Regions from separate parts of the Homo sapiens genome. Here all the other regions are linked to region 1. Evidence: promoter capture Hi-C in human tissues and cell types (Jung and others, 2019). All regions are on one chromosome and are shown on one strand. The core of a region is centred on a gene start or on the middle of the fragment in contact, and the rest is flanking DNA. Distances in the headings are between cores, read along the strand shown.

Region 1 (4,712 bases), core at 1,461-3,960:
CTTCACTCTATTTGTAGGGAGTTCTACTTGCCACCGTATCAACACTGTAATTACCGCTAACATGGCAGCCGCTCGTCATCAACAGCCCATCTGGGAGGGTGTGATGGCACTGCTGGTATGGGGTGCCCAGCATGGCCAGTCCGGAGAAAAGCATCTGGCGGTGGCAATGCAAGTCAGAAGGCTGACGCAAATGAGAGCTGCAAAAGAGGAACTCAGGTTTTAAAGGTGACACCTTTAAAAACAAAATTCTGGTAAATTGTGTTATGTATATTTTACTACAGCAAAAATAGAACAGAAGAAAAAAACTGCTGAAAGTTTCAAGTTTAGGTCAAATTTAGCACTATCTTGTGGGGAACTTTTCAACAAACTTAAGAGGCATCACGAAGAACAGAGAAAACGTCACAGCAACTTGGTCTTTGTTCCCTCCCATCCAGTTCCATTCAGATGGCCAGCCTATCGAAGGAGATCCTGCTCTTCGGGGAGAAACTACAGAAAGAGGAGAACAACAGCTGAATGGAGGGTAGGGGAGGCCACACCAACTATACGAGATCCAATGCAAGGGTCACAATGAAGGCTGAGCAAGACATCCGCCCCCCCCCCTTTTTTTCTAGTTTAACTACAGTTGCAGAGTAAAATCAGAGGACTTCTGTAATCATTCTCTAACAGAACTCGAAGTCTTCCAGGGCAGCCAATACTTACTAAGAGAAATCAAGGTCTCAGAGAAACCAAAGAAACAGCCTCAGGGTCTCCGATTTTGAACGTTATGCCATAGACTAGGTCTGCACACAACAAAAACAGTAACTGTTTCGATGGCACTTTTTCCACAGGTAATATCATCTTATATGTTTGGCTAAGTCTCAACATCCCAAAAAGGATCAAAAGATTCTCTAAGTTTTGCAGTTCAACAACTGTGCACACTTTTATTTCTCATTTCAAGTGTTAAGGATATTGCTCTAATGACTGCATAAAACTCTCTCCTCATGTAAGAAAGCCTGAAATCTAATTTCTCTACCATAAAACCCTGTTCTTGCAAAAGGATACAAAACTACTCATAATCTACAAAAACGATGAATCCTAAGCATGTTACATAGAAGGAAAACAGTTTCAAAGCATAGGGAGCTGTTAGACCAGCTTCATCTTCCCAAGCCTCTTCCAAAACTTCTTGGAAGCTGATATATAACACTAACCTTCCAAAAACACAACAGAAGCAGAAAATCTTAATGGGGCACCAGGAAAAGAGCAAGCCTCGAGAAAAATCAAGACTCCCCCCGACCAACCTTCCCAAATAACACAAACACAAGAGTTAACAGTACAATCCCTCTTTGAGAGGGGACTGAATCAATGTGGCAGGGCCAACCCTACACACACACACACACGCGCGCGCGCGCGCGCGCGCACACACATACACCACACACACAGCTACCGCCCTGCCAGGGGATGATGAAATGAGGAACGGAAATTAACATTTCAGGCAACGTCTCACATTGTTCCTTGAGGCCAAGGGCTGCTGTTGCAGCCGCCACCGCCACCGCTTTCCTCCCAGCCACCCCCCACACCCGCCCGCCTACCCTCCCCCTAACACCCCCCACACGGCTGCCCGCATTCCTGCCCCTCCTCGGCCTACGCGCGCCTCCTGCAACCCCGACGCCCCCAGGTCCCCAGTTCGCCCTCCCCCTCCGGCTCGGAGCCCGAGAGCCGCCTGCTCTCATTTCAAAACAGCGATAATAATAGGGACGCTGAGAATAACAACTACGACCAGCACGGCGAAGGCGCCCCTCTCGCGGGTCAGAGGTCGGCGCCCCAGCTCCGCAGAACCCGGCGCCCGGCCAGCGCCCCCTGGCAGCCCCTCCCGGCAGCCTCAGGTCCCCAAGACCTGCAGGCCCGCCCCGAAGCCCCCCGTCCGCCCCTCACGGCCGCTCCGAGCCCCCGAGGCCCGCCCCGGAGCCCCCTGTCCGCCTCTCACGGCCGCCCCGGGCCCCCACGGCCCCCAGGCCCGCCCCGGAGCCCCCAATCGGCCCCTCAGAGCCGCCGCGGGCCCCCGGCCACCCAGGCCCGCCCGGAGCCCCCGTCCGCCCCTTACGGCCGACCCAAGCTCCGCCGACCTCCCAGGCCCCCCCCGGAGCCCCCTATGGGCCCCTCACGGCCACCCCGGGCCCCCAAAGACCCCCGGCTGCCCCGAACCCGGACCCGTAGGCCCGCTCCGGGACCCATTATTGGTCCCTCACGATCGCCCCGGGCCCCCAAAGACCCCCGCCCACCCGGCCCCGACCCCCCAGGCCCGCCCGGAGGCCCGCGGCGCAGCTCCGTCGCCGGGGAAGGCCTGCAGGCCGCAAGGCCGCGCGAATGCCCCGTGCCCGCCCCGACCACCGCCCCCAGACCAGCGGCGCCTCTCACCGTGCTCCGAGGGCTGCGCGGCTCCGCGACGGCTCAGCGGCGGGGCGCGGGCGCTGCCCATGCAGCCCGCGGCCGCGTTTCCCGGGCCGCGCGGCCCGAGCGGCAAGGCGGCGGCGGCGGCGGCGCGGGCTCGGGCCCGGCAGAGCTGCGAGGGACGGCGGGAGGCGAGCCCGCCCCTCGGGCGCGCCCACGGCTCGGGCGAGAGCCGCGGCTCCCGGTGCGGACGCTACTGATGGGGCGTCTGGCCGCGGGCTCGGCGGCGGCGCCTCCCCGGCTGGGGCCCTCGGTCCATCGCGCACCGTCTCAGGGCGGCCTCTGGCTCCAGGACCCAGCGGCGGCTGCGGCGGGAGCCGGCCGCATGAGACGCTCCCGCCCATTGGCCCGCCGTATCCGCCACCGCCATTGGCCCGCCCCGGCCGGCCGCAGGGGCTGTGCACGTCACAGCGCCGTGAGTTAGTGCGCTAATGGAGTGAAGGAGAGAGGCGGGATTGACAGCCTCTCTGGCGGTCCGGAGGCGGGACTAGGAGGACGTCCCGGTAACGATTGGGCAGGGTCCTGCGTAAGGGCGCATGCGACACTGGAAGTAGCGAGCAACTGGATTGGCTGCCTCCGTCGCAAAGGAGGGTGGGTCTTGCATTCTCGGGCCTGACGATTGGTCTTTCCAAGTGCCGGAAGCAACAGGGATGTCGTCTGGAAACAAAATCTGGTATTGAAGCGCAGGGAGACAAAACGTCCACCTCTAGAGCCGAGGCGGCGGTTGCCTGTCGCGTGCCCGTGGTCTTCTGCCTGCCCCCGGACATCTCGGGCCACGTCCGGCCCGGCCTCCGGCCGCGCTGCCCTAACGGGCGTCACGGGGCATGAAGAGCTCTGGGCGGCTGCGAGGGGAGGGTACCGGGGCAGCGGGGCGGTCGCTCGGGGCTCCCGCGCGGTGACTCTTGCTCTGCCGTCGAAGAGAACGGCCCTCGGGCGCGTCGCGGCCGCGGCTCCAGAGCCCCTGGGCCTCGCGCTCTGAGAGCCTGAGCCGCTTGAGGAGGCCAAGCGCCCACGAACCGCATTCCCTGCCTTGCTAGTTAGTTCTCCAACACGCGAAAAAGGTAGACGAGGACTGGTTTTCTTTGCAGCTAAAATGAATCAAGCCTCTGGTAAGTGTGGATCCTGTTCTAAGTGCACCTGTGTTCTCCTCCAGAACTAAACCAAAAAGCAAGGTGAACAAAATCGGTGCTCCTTCAGTTTCTTCTTTAGTTCTGCATGTTACTGGGGACTAAGACAACGGGTAAGCAAACTATTTATAGGCCTCAATTTACGAAATAACGGAATTGCAAAGTCCGGAGTGGATAGGACCGTGAGGACGGTCTTTTTTCTTGGGCAACACGCATTATGGTCGAGAGATCAGTTGTTAAACCGCCCCTGTTCAAATCCCAGCCCTACCAGTGACTAGCGGTCACCCTGTAGGCTTTGTCTCTCAGATCTTCAGTTTCTTGGTGGGTAAAATGGGAACTACAAGTAGCACCTATTCTTTTTTTTTTTTTTTTTTGAGTCAGGGTCTCACTCTGTCGCCCATGCTGGAGTGCAGTGCTAACTGCAGCCTCAGCTTCCCGGGCTCAGAGGATCCTCCCACCTTAGCCTACTAAGTAGGTGGGACCACAGTCAGGCATCACCACACCCGGCTAATTTTTTAAATTTTCGTAGAGATAGGCTCTCTGTGTGTTTCCCAGGCTGGTCTTGAAATCCTGGACTCAAGCGACCCTCCCTCCTCAGCTTCCCAAAGTGCTGGGATTAGAGGCATGAGCCACGGTGCGGGCCAGGAGCACCTATTTCATAGGCCCATCGGGAAGATTAAATGAAGGGGCTGTGGAGGCTGTAGCACGGTGCTTGGCACGTATGTGAGCTCTGGGGAAACATTAGTTATGCTATAACTGGACCTTCAGCCTTCTCTAGGCAGCCAGATTTCGGGCTCCACCCACAACTAGTCACGCCATTGGATGAGGGGTGAGCGCCTGATAAAAACAGCCGGCGTATGCGCTGATGTGCGTTCACGAAGAGGTGATCCAAGTGTTTCCATATTTGCCTCACTGGACGAAGTATTTGGTAAAATTGACGAAATTCAGAGTCCTGGACCCCATCATCACCTATGGAATTATTCTAGATGAGAGGGGACTAGGCATTGGCATTTTTTTATTTTGGTCCCTTACAATACTCATCATTGGGAAAATTTGAAAAACATCAACCTAAGCCGTCATGCTCGCACTCGAGAATGTTTCCCCTAGGCTGATTGACGGGCAGTGGTATTCACAGGTGCGGTCAGCGCAGTCCAGCTT
Region 2 (4,673 bases), core at 1,930-4,429, 140 kb before region 1:
GTTACAGTGAGTCTAGATGGCACCACTGCACTCTAGCCTGGGGGACAGAGTAAAACACTGTCTCAAAAAGTAAAAAAAAAAAAAAAAAAAAAAAAAAAGAATAATAATTATAGTAATCAAGACAGTGTGGTGTTAGCAAAAGAATCGATAAATAGAATGATGGAACAGAAAAGACCAAAAACAGGCCAGGCGCAGTGGCTCACGCCTGTAATCCCAGCACTTTGGGAGAACACGGTGAAACCCCATCTCTACTCAAAATACCAAAAATTAGCCGGGCGTGGTGGCGGGCGCCTGTAGTCCCAGCTACTTGGAAGGCTGAGGCAGGAGAATGGCGTGAACCCGGGAGGCGGAGCTTACAGTGAGCTGAGATCGCGCCACTGCACTCCAGCCTGGGCGACAGAGCGAGACTCATCTCAAAAAAGACCAAAAATAGACCCACATAAATATATAGTCAACTAATTTCTTAACAAATGTAAAGAAATTGAATGGCAAAATAATCTTTTCCACAAATGATGCTGGAAATAATTGAATATCCTCATGCAAAAAACAAAAACCTCTAACCTTACCTTATGCCATACACAAAAATTATTTCATAATTGAAGTAAATATGACTGAAAACTATGTATCTTGTAGAAGAAAACTTGCTCTACGATGCTGGCTTAGAGAGATTTCTTAAAGACACAAAAAGCACAAAGTACCCAAGACAAAACTATGAAGTTGGACTTCATCAAACTAAAAACTTTAGCTGCTCTAAAGACACTATTAAGAAATAAAAATACAGGCCAAATACTTGTTAAAACACACACACACACACACACACACACACACACACACACACACACACACACATATTCAAACAACAAATAGCTGGTAAAGGACCTGTGTCTAGAATCCATAAAGAACTCTCAAAAATCAGCAGACAACCCGATTTTTAGAAATGAGCAAATGGCAGATATGAAAGTGAAGACACATGCTTCACCAAAGCAAATACATGGATAGTCCCTTCCCCCCACCAAAAAAGCCACATGAAAAGACAAGCAACATCATTTGTCACTAGGGCACTGGAAATTAAAACCGCAATTCACTAGAATGGCTAAAATGGAAAAGATGGACTACACCATGTAACGGCAAGGACAGAGCAGATGGAATTCCCATTCAACGCTGGTGGGAACACAAAACTGAGTGGTCACTTTGGAAAAGAGTCTGGCAGGTTCTTAACAAGTTAAACATTCATGTAACATGTGACCGAGAAACCCAGACCCAGAAAAGGTACCACATCCAGCCATCTGATGCTTTGCATGCAACTACTCATATCAGCTTGACTCCCAACAGCTAAAACTAGGAAACAACGGACATGTCTATAACTGCTTATTGGATGAACATGCGACATATCTACCCCCTAAAAAGCTACTCAGTAAACTACTGACATACACCACAGAACCCAGATCAATCTCAAAAGGAAGATGAAACACACCAGACACAAGAGTCCACACTCAATGATTCCATTCATATTAAATTCTAGTAAAGCAAAAGCTACAGTGACCGAAAGCACATCAGCATCCTGGGTCCAGGAAATAGGATGACATGCTGCTGCAAAGAGGAAAGGGGGAACTTTCTTGGGGTGATGGAAATACTACTCTGTATCATGACTGTGATGGTGGGAACAAGACAGTTCCAACTGATTCCTTAAAACTCTCACATCTGTAGTCATGAGCAACATGATGCTCATGTTGAGTGTGGTCAACAGGCCACATTCATGATGGTGGTATGTGCTACCATAAGATGCTAATGGAGTGGAACGGGTCCCATGGCATAAACACCTACCACTGTGTTACGATTTCTTTCCACGATTCAGCAGGGTGACTCAGCAACAGGCTCTACCATGTAGCTTAGGTGTGTGGGAGGCTCTGCCTTCTGGATCTGGGTACGCACACTCTGTGATGCTCAGAGGACAAGATCACCTAACAACGCATTTCTCAGGATGCATCCCCCGACCGCTATTAAAATTGATGCATTCCAAAGTATTTAAACTGTACCTCAAAGAAGCTCTCAGAGAGAATGCACGGGAGTGGACGATGGCGGGCACAAGAGCTCGTCAAGAGCACTGTTGTGAAGAAAAGCAGAGAGGCGGCGGCGGCAGCTGGTGGTGGGCATGGGCGAGGGGTTCCACGGCAAAGAATGAAATTGAATGCCCATCACCCCACGCCCACAGGCCGCCAAACACATCTGGAAAAGCAGAATACATTCCTGAAGGGGATGGCATCCATGGCCCTAGGGAAGGAAGACCAGATCCCAACAGGAGCAGGATGAGGCTGTCCTTGATACTGAGCAGGTGGCTGACTTCACCACACACCCTCCACTACCTCCGCAAATCACTCCAGGCATTCATTACCCACTACACCAAATAACTGATTCTCATTTCATAAATATACGTATTCAAAGAGGATCCTAGCGAACTTTTTCAAGAAAACACTGGATACAGACTCTCGGGCAGGTCTGTAAGTTAAGGCATGGAGACGAAGCTTCTCTCTGTGTTTGGCATTGAGGCAATGCTGCTGTGGGCACTGCAGACATAGGCCCTGTGACCTGGGCGCAGGTTCGTGTCATGCCACACAGCATGCAATTCCATGGACACAAAATGACCAGAACAGCAGACTCAGAGAGGACGCAGAGGCTGCAGGGGGAACAAGGAGTGACGATTAAAGGTCCAAGTTTCTTTCTGAGGTGACAGCAATGTTCTAGAACTGACAGTCCTGGTGGTTGAACAGACCCGTGAATACACTAACAACCTTTGAACTGTGCGCTTTATCTGGGTAAGCCTACGGTCTGTCAATCCTCTCAATCAAGCTGGTATTATCTCTTTTTTGGAGACAGTCTCACTCTGTCGCCCAGGATGGAGTGCAGTGGTGCGATCGTGGCTCACTGCAATCTCTGCCTCCCAGGTTCAAGCAATTCTCACGCCTCCGCTGAAATGACAGGCACAAGCCACCAGGCCCAGGTAATTTGTGTAGAGGCGGGGGTTTCAACATGTTGGTCAGATTGGTCTCAAACTCCTGACCTCAAGTGATCCGCCTGCCTCAGCCTCCCAAATGCTGGGATCACAGGCGTGAGCCATTGCACCTGGCCGATTATCTTCTTTGAAAAGCATGAGACACGTTTCCCTAGGGATGGAATGCTGGACACGAGACAAGACTTGTCCTAAGGACTGGATCTCACAGTGGCCAGGTATGCATCACGCCACGCGGTGCAGAGCCCTGGGGGAAGGCAAGTCAAGAAGCCAGGGGTCTAGGCACCGCAATGTCTCAAGGCAGCCCCCCAAGAAAACCAAGCAGAAGGCCACAGTGACGCCCTCCTGCTCTCAGGTCAGTGGCAGGAGGGCACTTGCTGATGCTGGGCACAGAGGAATGTCAGGGCAGATCTTCAAGGCTCACACCCTTCAGAGCTTCTGGCAAGCTCAACACAGTGAGCGAGCCCTGCCCCCAAGAGTGAGGCCCCTGTCAGGGCCACTTCCTCTCGCCCTGGCCCATCCAGATCTCACACACACTGTGGTAGATCTTTGAAGGGTAAAAGCTCTGTCCGCTCCACTCATCAGCACCAAAGTGTTCTGTGCCTGGCCCTTCTCCACCCAATTCACCAGTTTATTGAAGCCTCAGCTGGGTGAGTCCCGCTTGCCTCTGAAAATGTGTGTGCTCAGCCAGGCAGATTCTTGAGTGCGTTTCCTATGTGCTGCTGCCCTCCTTCAAGATGACCACATGGGCCCCCAAGCAGGGCCCCTACCTGCTTTGTCAGCATCTTGTCCTTTCCCTCTTTTCTCTCACGGCTTGTTCTACTTCACGGCATGTTTAAGCAAAGGGGGTCACTACAACAAAATTATTTTAAAACAAACATACTTCAGAAAAGTTTATGGAAAACATTAAACCTTGAATATATTAACTTTACAGGATCCATTTACTTCACCCTAACACTGAGTTAAAATTATAACAAGAGAAAGTAGGGCTGGGCGCGGTGGCTCACGCCTGTAATTAATCCCAGCACTTTGGGAGGCCAAGGCAGGTGGATCATGAGGTCAGGAGTTCAAGACCAGCCTGGCCAATATGGTGAAACCCCGTCTCTACTAAAAATACAAAAATTAGCCGTGCATGGTGGCAGACGCCTATAATCCCAGCTACTCAGGAGGCTGAGGCAGGAGAATTGCTTCAACTCAGGAGGCGGAGGTTGCAGTGAGCCAAGATGGCGCCACTGCACTCCAGCCTGGGTGACAGAGTGAGACTCCAACTCCAAAAAAAAAGAGAGAGAGAGAGAGAGAGAGAAAGTAAACAAAGTTTCTATTTATTTCTCCAGAGGATCTCAAAAGTAGAGCTGGAAATACCAGCAGTAAGAGGAACACCAGTCCAAGGCAACTACAAGGAACTGGTCACTTTTTCATTTTTTTGAGACAGAGTCTTACTGTGTCACCCAGGCTGGAGTACAGTGGTGCAATCTCGGCTCACTGCAACCTCCGCCTTCCGGGTTCAAGCAATTCTCCTGCCTCAGCCTCCCTAGTAGCTGGGATTACAGGCATGCACAACCACGCTTGCCTAATTTCTTTGTATTTTTAGTAGAGACAGGGTTTCATCATGTTGGCCAGGCTGGTTTCGAACTCCTGACCTCAGCTGATCCGCCTGCCTGGGCCT
Region 3 (3,533 bases), core at 11-2,510, 200 kb after region 1:
GTGAAAGCTTCCTTTCACCTGGAAGTCACACGGTCCCTTCAGCTCACATTCCAAGGCCAGATGCCACTGGGTAGCGTTTCATAACTTCCAGGAGGTAGTGATACAGGGATGCTGGGACAGCAGCCTCTGCCACAGATGTATTTTTGTATGTGGGATTGAAAGGGAGTATCTGAGTGGCCGCCTCTGATATTTCTTTCAAAGCATTGGCCCAGTATCGTCACCACCTTTTCTCATCAGAAAAGCCCAAGAGGCCGGGTACGGTGGCTCACGCTTGTAATCCCAGCACTTTGGGAGGCCAAGGCGGGCAGATCACTTGAGGTCAGGAGCTCAAGACCAGCCTGGCCAACATGGTGAAACCCAGTCTCTACTAAAAATAGAAAATTAGGCGGTTGTGGTGGCACCTGCCTGTAATCCCAGCTACTCAGGAGGCTGAGGCCGGAGAATCACTTGAACCCAGGAGGCGGAGGTTGCAGTGAACCATGTTCTTGCCACTGCACTCCAGCCTGGGCAACAGAGCGAGACTCAGTCTCAAAAAAAGAAAAAAAAAGCCCAAACGTGTGGTTGCCTTTCTGTTTGGTGAGCAAGACGTGAGTGGGCTCCCTGGTACAAATTCCATTTGAAATTTCCTCAGTTGTTCCATCAGCTGCCAAATTTCCACACTGGCAACACCCTTCTGTTTCAGCTGGGACGATGCCGGAGTGTGAAGGAGTTTGAGAAGCTGAACCGCATTGGAGAGGGTACCTACGGCATTGTGTGTGAGTGGCCAAGGCTAGGACATGTGGCCGCAGCTCGTGGCTGTGACAGTGTGGGACGAGACTGTCGAAGCAGCAGCCGCGTTGGGGCTGGAAGGGACTCAGACCCTGTGCTCTGAAACAGGGCAGAAACCTGTTCAGGAACTTCAATTCCTGATGTAGTTATCACAAACATTGTACCATTTCTGGGTAAACGTAAGCATCCGGTTGCTAATGCCCATAATCCAAACGTGTCACTGCAGAGTACACAGAACTGTTAGAGAAATAAAATACAGAACTTTCCAGAAGCAGCAGGAGCTGGACATGGTGCTCATGTCTATCACCTCAGCAACTCTGGAGGAGTCACCTGAGCCCAGGTGTTTTTTCTTTTTGTTTGTTTTTGAGATGGGTCTTGCTCTATTGCCCAGACTGGAGTGCAGTGGCATGATCATAGCTCACTGCGGCCTCGACCTCCTAGGCTCAAGTGATCCTCCCACCTCAGCCTCCTGAGTATCTGGGACCACAAGAGTACATAAGCACACCCAGCTAATTTTTAAATTTTTGGTAGAGATGGGATCTCCCTATGTTGCCCAGGCTGGTCTTGAACTTCTGGGCTCAAATGATCCTCCTGCCTCGGCCTCCCAAAGCACTGGGATTACAGGTGTGAGCCACTGCACCCGGCCAAGCCTAGGAGTTTGAGGCTGCAGTGAGCTGTGATCACGCCACTGCACCCCAGCCTTGGCAACAGAGTGAGACCCTGTCTCAAAAAAACCAAAAACACCACACACAACTAAAGGTTATAACAGATGTGAAATTGGCGTAGGTCATTCTGGAAGCTGCACACATTAGCAGGATGTTTTGTAGAGCCATCTTCACACAAAATAAGGTTTGCTTTTTTCTGCATAGAGTACCTTATTTGCTTTTAGGACATTACAAGAGAGCACAAAGCAGTGATCTGCATGCTAAGGAGGACATGGAGAGCCTGGAGCCACAGAACTGAGTGGCTGGAGGCCAGGGTCCAGCACAGAGCAAAGTTGGGCACCCCCTGCCCAGTTCAAATGAGGAAACCCTCCGGGGGAACGCGTCTCGGGCTAGGGGCGTTGCACAGAGTGGGGACTGAGTGTCACTGGGCATGAGGTTGTCAGAGGAAAGAACGGGGACCCCTGTGGCTCAGGGAGAGCCTCCCGTTCAGCGCTAGGGAGCCCACGAGGGGCATCGAGATGATGTCATCACCAATGTGTTTCCATTCCAGATCGGGCCCGGGACACCCAGACAGATGAGATTGTCGCACTGAAGAAGGTGCGGATGGACAAGGAGAAGGATGGTGAGCAGGAAATTGGGGTGTTGGGACCTCGCACTGGGAGGAGGCAGAAGGATGTGAGTTACCTGAAGTTTCCTCAGAGCGACTGCACGGTGCTTGTAGCGGGGGCCGGCCTCTGGGAGGGTTCTGGTGTGGCCCAGCACATCACCCCCAGGTCCACACGCAGCCTCAGCTGTCTGCCAGGAGGGCTCTGCAGTCTCCATCCCCTCCTCCCCCTCCTGTCTGGTGAGGCCACCTCACTGCAGGCTCAGCTCTGCTGTCCCCTCCACCCCCAGCACCTGCCTGTGCAGGCAGGGCCCTGCCATGCCCCACATAGATGTCCACGGTGTTTAGAGAGGTGCCGATTCGTATTTGGTCAAGGAAGAGTTAAAAGTGCTTATTGGGCCGGGCATGGTGGCTCATGCCTGTAATCCCAGCACTTTGGGAGGCCGAGGCAGGCGGATCACCTGAGGTCGGCAGTTCAAGACCAGCCTGACCAACATGGAGAAACCCCATCTCTACTAAAAATACAAAATTAGCCAGGCGTGGTGGCACATGCCTGTAATCCCAGCTACTAGGGAGGCTGAGGCAGGAGAATTGCTTGAACCCGGGAGGCAGAGGTTGCGGTGAGCCGAGATGGTGCCATTGCACTCCAGCCTGGGCAACGAGCGAAACTCCGTCTCAAAAAAAAAAAAATGCTTATTGGGGTCGCCCCAATTCTCCCTGAGGTGGGGACACTGCAGCACCTGCTATCAGGTGTTCGTGAAGCCCAAGAGTGGCTGGGGTTGGGGCTTCCCCGCCATCACTGGGGTGGGGCTCGCTGAGGCCACCTCCCTCCCCAGGCATCCCCATCAGCAGCTTGCGGGAGATCACGCTGCTGCTCCGCCTGCGTCATCCGAACATCGTGGAGCTGAAGGAGGTGGTTGTGGGGAACCACCTGGAGAGGTACGTGGTCTCCTGGTCTGCACATTGGGCCCTAGGGAGCATGTGTCTTGGGCTAGAGGTGTTGCACAGAGCGAGGACTGAGTGTCACTGGGCATGAGGTTGTCAGAGAAGAGATGACCCCACCTCACCGCCTGGCTCAGCCCATTGTCTGAGGGGGACACAGGTTGTCCTGCCCATGTCCCCTCCTGCAGCAGGGGAGGCTCCACTTCCACCCCTTAGGAGAAGGCCGGAGAGTGGCATGCATCTTCTGTTTCTTCCAGCATCTTCCTGGTGATGGGTTACTGTGAGCAGGACCTGGCCAGCCTCCTGGAGAATATGCCAACACCCTTCTCGGAGGCTCAGGTGCGTGGCAGAGGGGCCTGGGGTGGGGGAATGGGCTTCATGGGCCCTTGTGGTGCACATTTATAACGAAACAGGGCACTTGGGGACTTGAAGAGCTGCTGCTGCCTCTGCCTCCACCTCCCAGTGTTTCAGCGAGCTTCAGTGAGGTGGAATTCCTGTGGTGGGGGCATCTGCTGGGAGCGGGCAGCCCCAGGGCCGAGAGCCTTATGAGGGCA

What was found. The method cuts DNA at HindIII sites, captures the fragments that hold promoters and counts their contacts. A contact is called where the count stands out against the background at its distance.
Region 2: a fragment that was not itself captured here is called in contact with the fragment with the promoter of ANKRD11 in region 1 in 6 of the 25 tissues and cell types used here (H1 embryonic stem cells, IMR-90 fibroblasts, dorsolateral prefrontal cortex and 3 more).
Region 3: a contact is called between a fragment that was not itself captured here and the fragment with the promoter of ANKRD11 in region 1, in 1 of the 25 tissues and cell types used here (lymphoblastoid cells).

The regions. Positions count from the first base shown.
Region 1 is chr16:89,487,851-89,492,562 of GRCh38, forward strand. It overlaps ANKRD11 (ankyrin repeat domain containing 11), which reads right to left and starts at 2,711. Exons shown (of 13, transcript NM_013275.6): 1 at 2,395-2,711. It overlaps LOC101930112 (a long non-coding RNA gene), which reads left to right and starts at 3,120. Exons shown (of 2, transcript XR_933895.4): 1 at 3,120-3,536. It overlaps LOC101927863 (a long non-coding RNA gene), which reads right to left. Exons shown (of 5, transcript NR_188547.1): 5 at 4,553-4,712. RefSeq lists enhancers at 1-399, 178-447, 598-667, 1,257-1,770, 1,771-2,285 and silencers at 1,567-1,636, 1,677-1,786, 1,867-1,916, 2,491-2,970, 3,171-3,260 and 1 more. The HindIII fragment of the contact is 15,043 bases long and covers 1-4,712 here.
Region 2 is chr16:89,349,064-89,353,736 of GRCh38, forward strand. All of the region lies in intron 2 of ANKRD11 (ankyrin repeat domain containing 11), which reads right to left. The region is part of intron 1 of LOC128462377; the gene reads right to left. Among named protein-coding and RNA genes, the nearest start is that of ZNF778, 130 kb to the left of the region's middle. The HindIII fragment of the contact is 8,829 bases long and covers 1-4,673 here.
Region 3 is chr16:89,688,570-89,692,102 of GRCh38, forward strand. It overlaps CDK10 (cyclin dependent kinase 10), which reads left to right. Exons shown (of 13, transcript NM_052988.5): 2 at 683-755; 3 at 1,984-2,055; 4 at 2,874-2,976; 5 at 3,237-3,318. Among named protein-coding and RNA genes, the nearest start is that of LINC02166, 3.4 kb to the left of the region's middle. The HindIII fragment of the contact is 5,257 bases long and covers 1-3,533 here.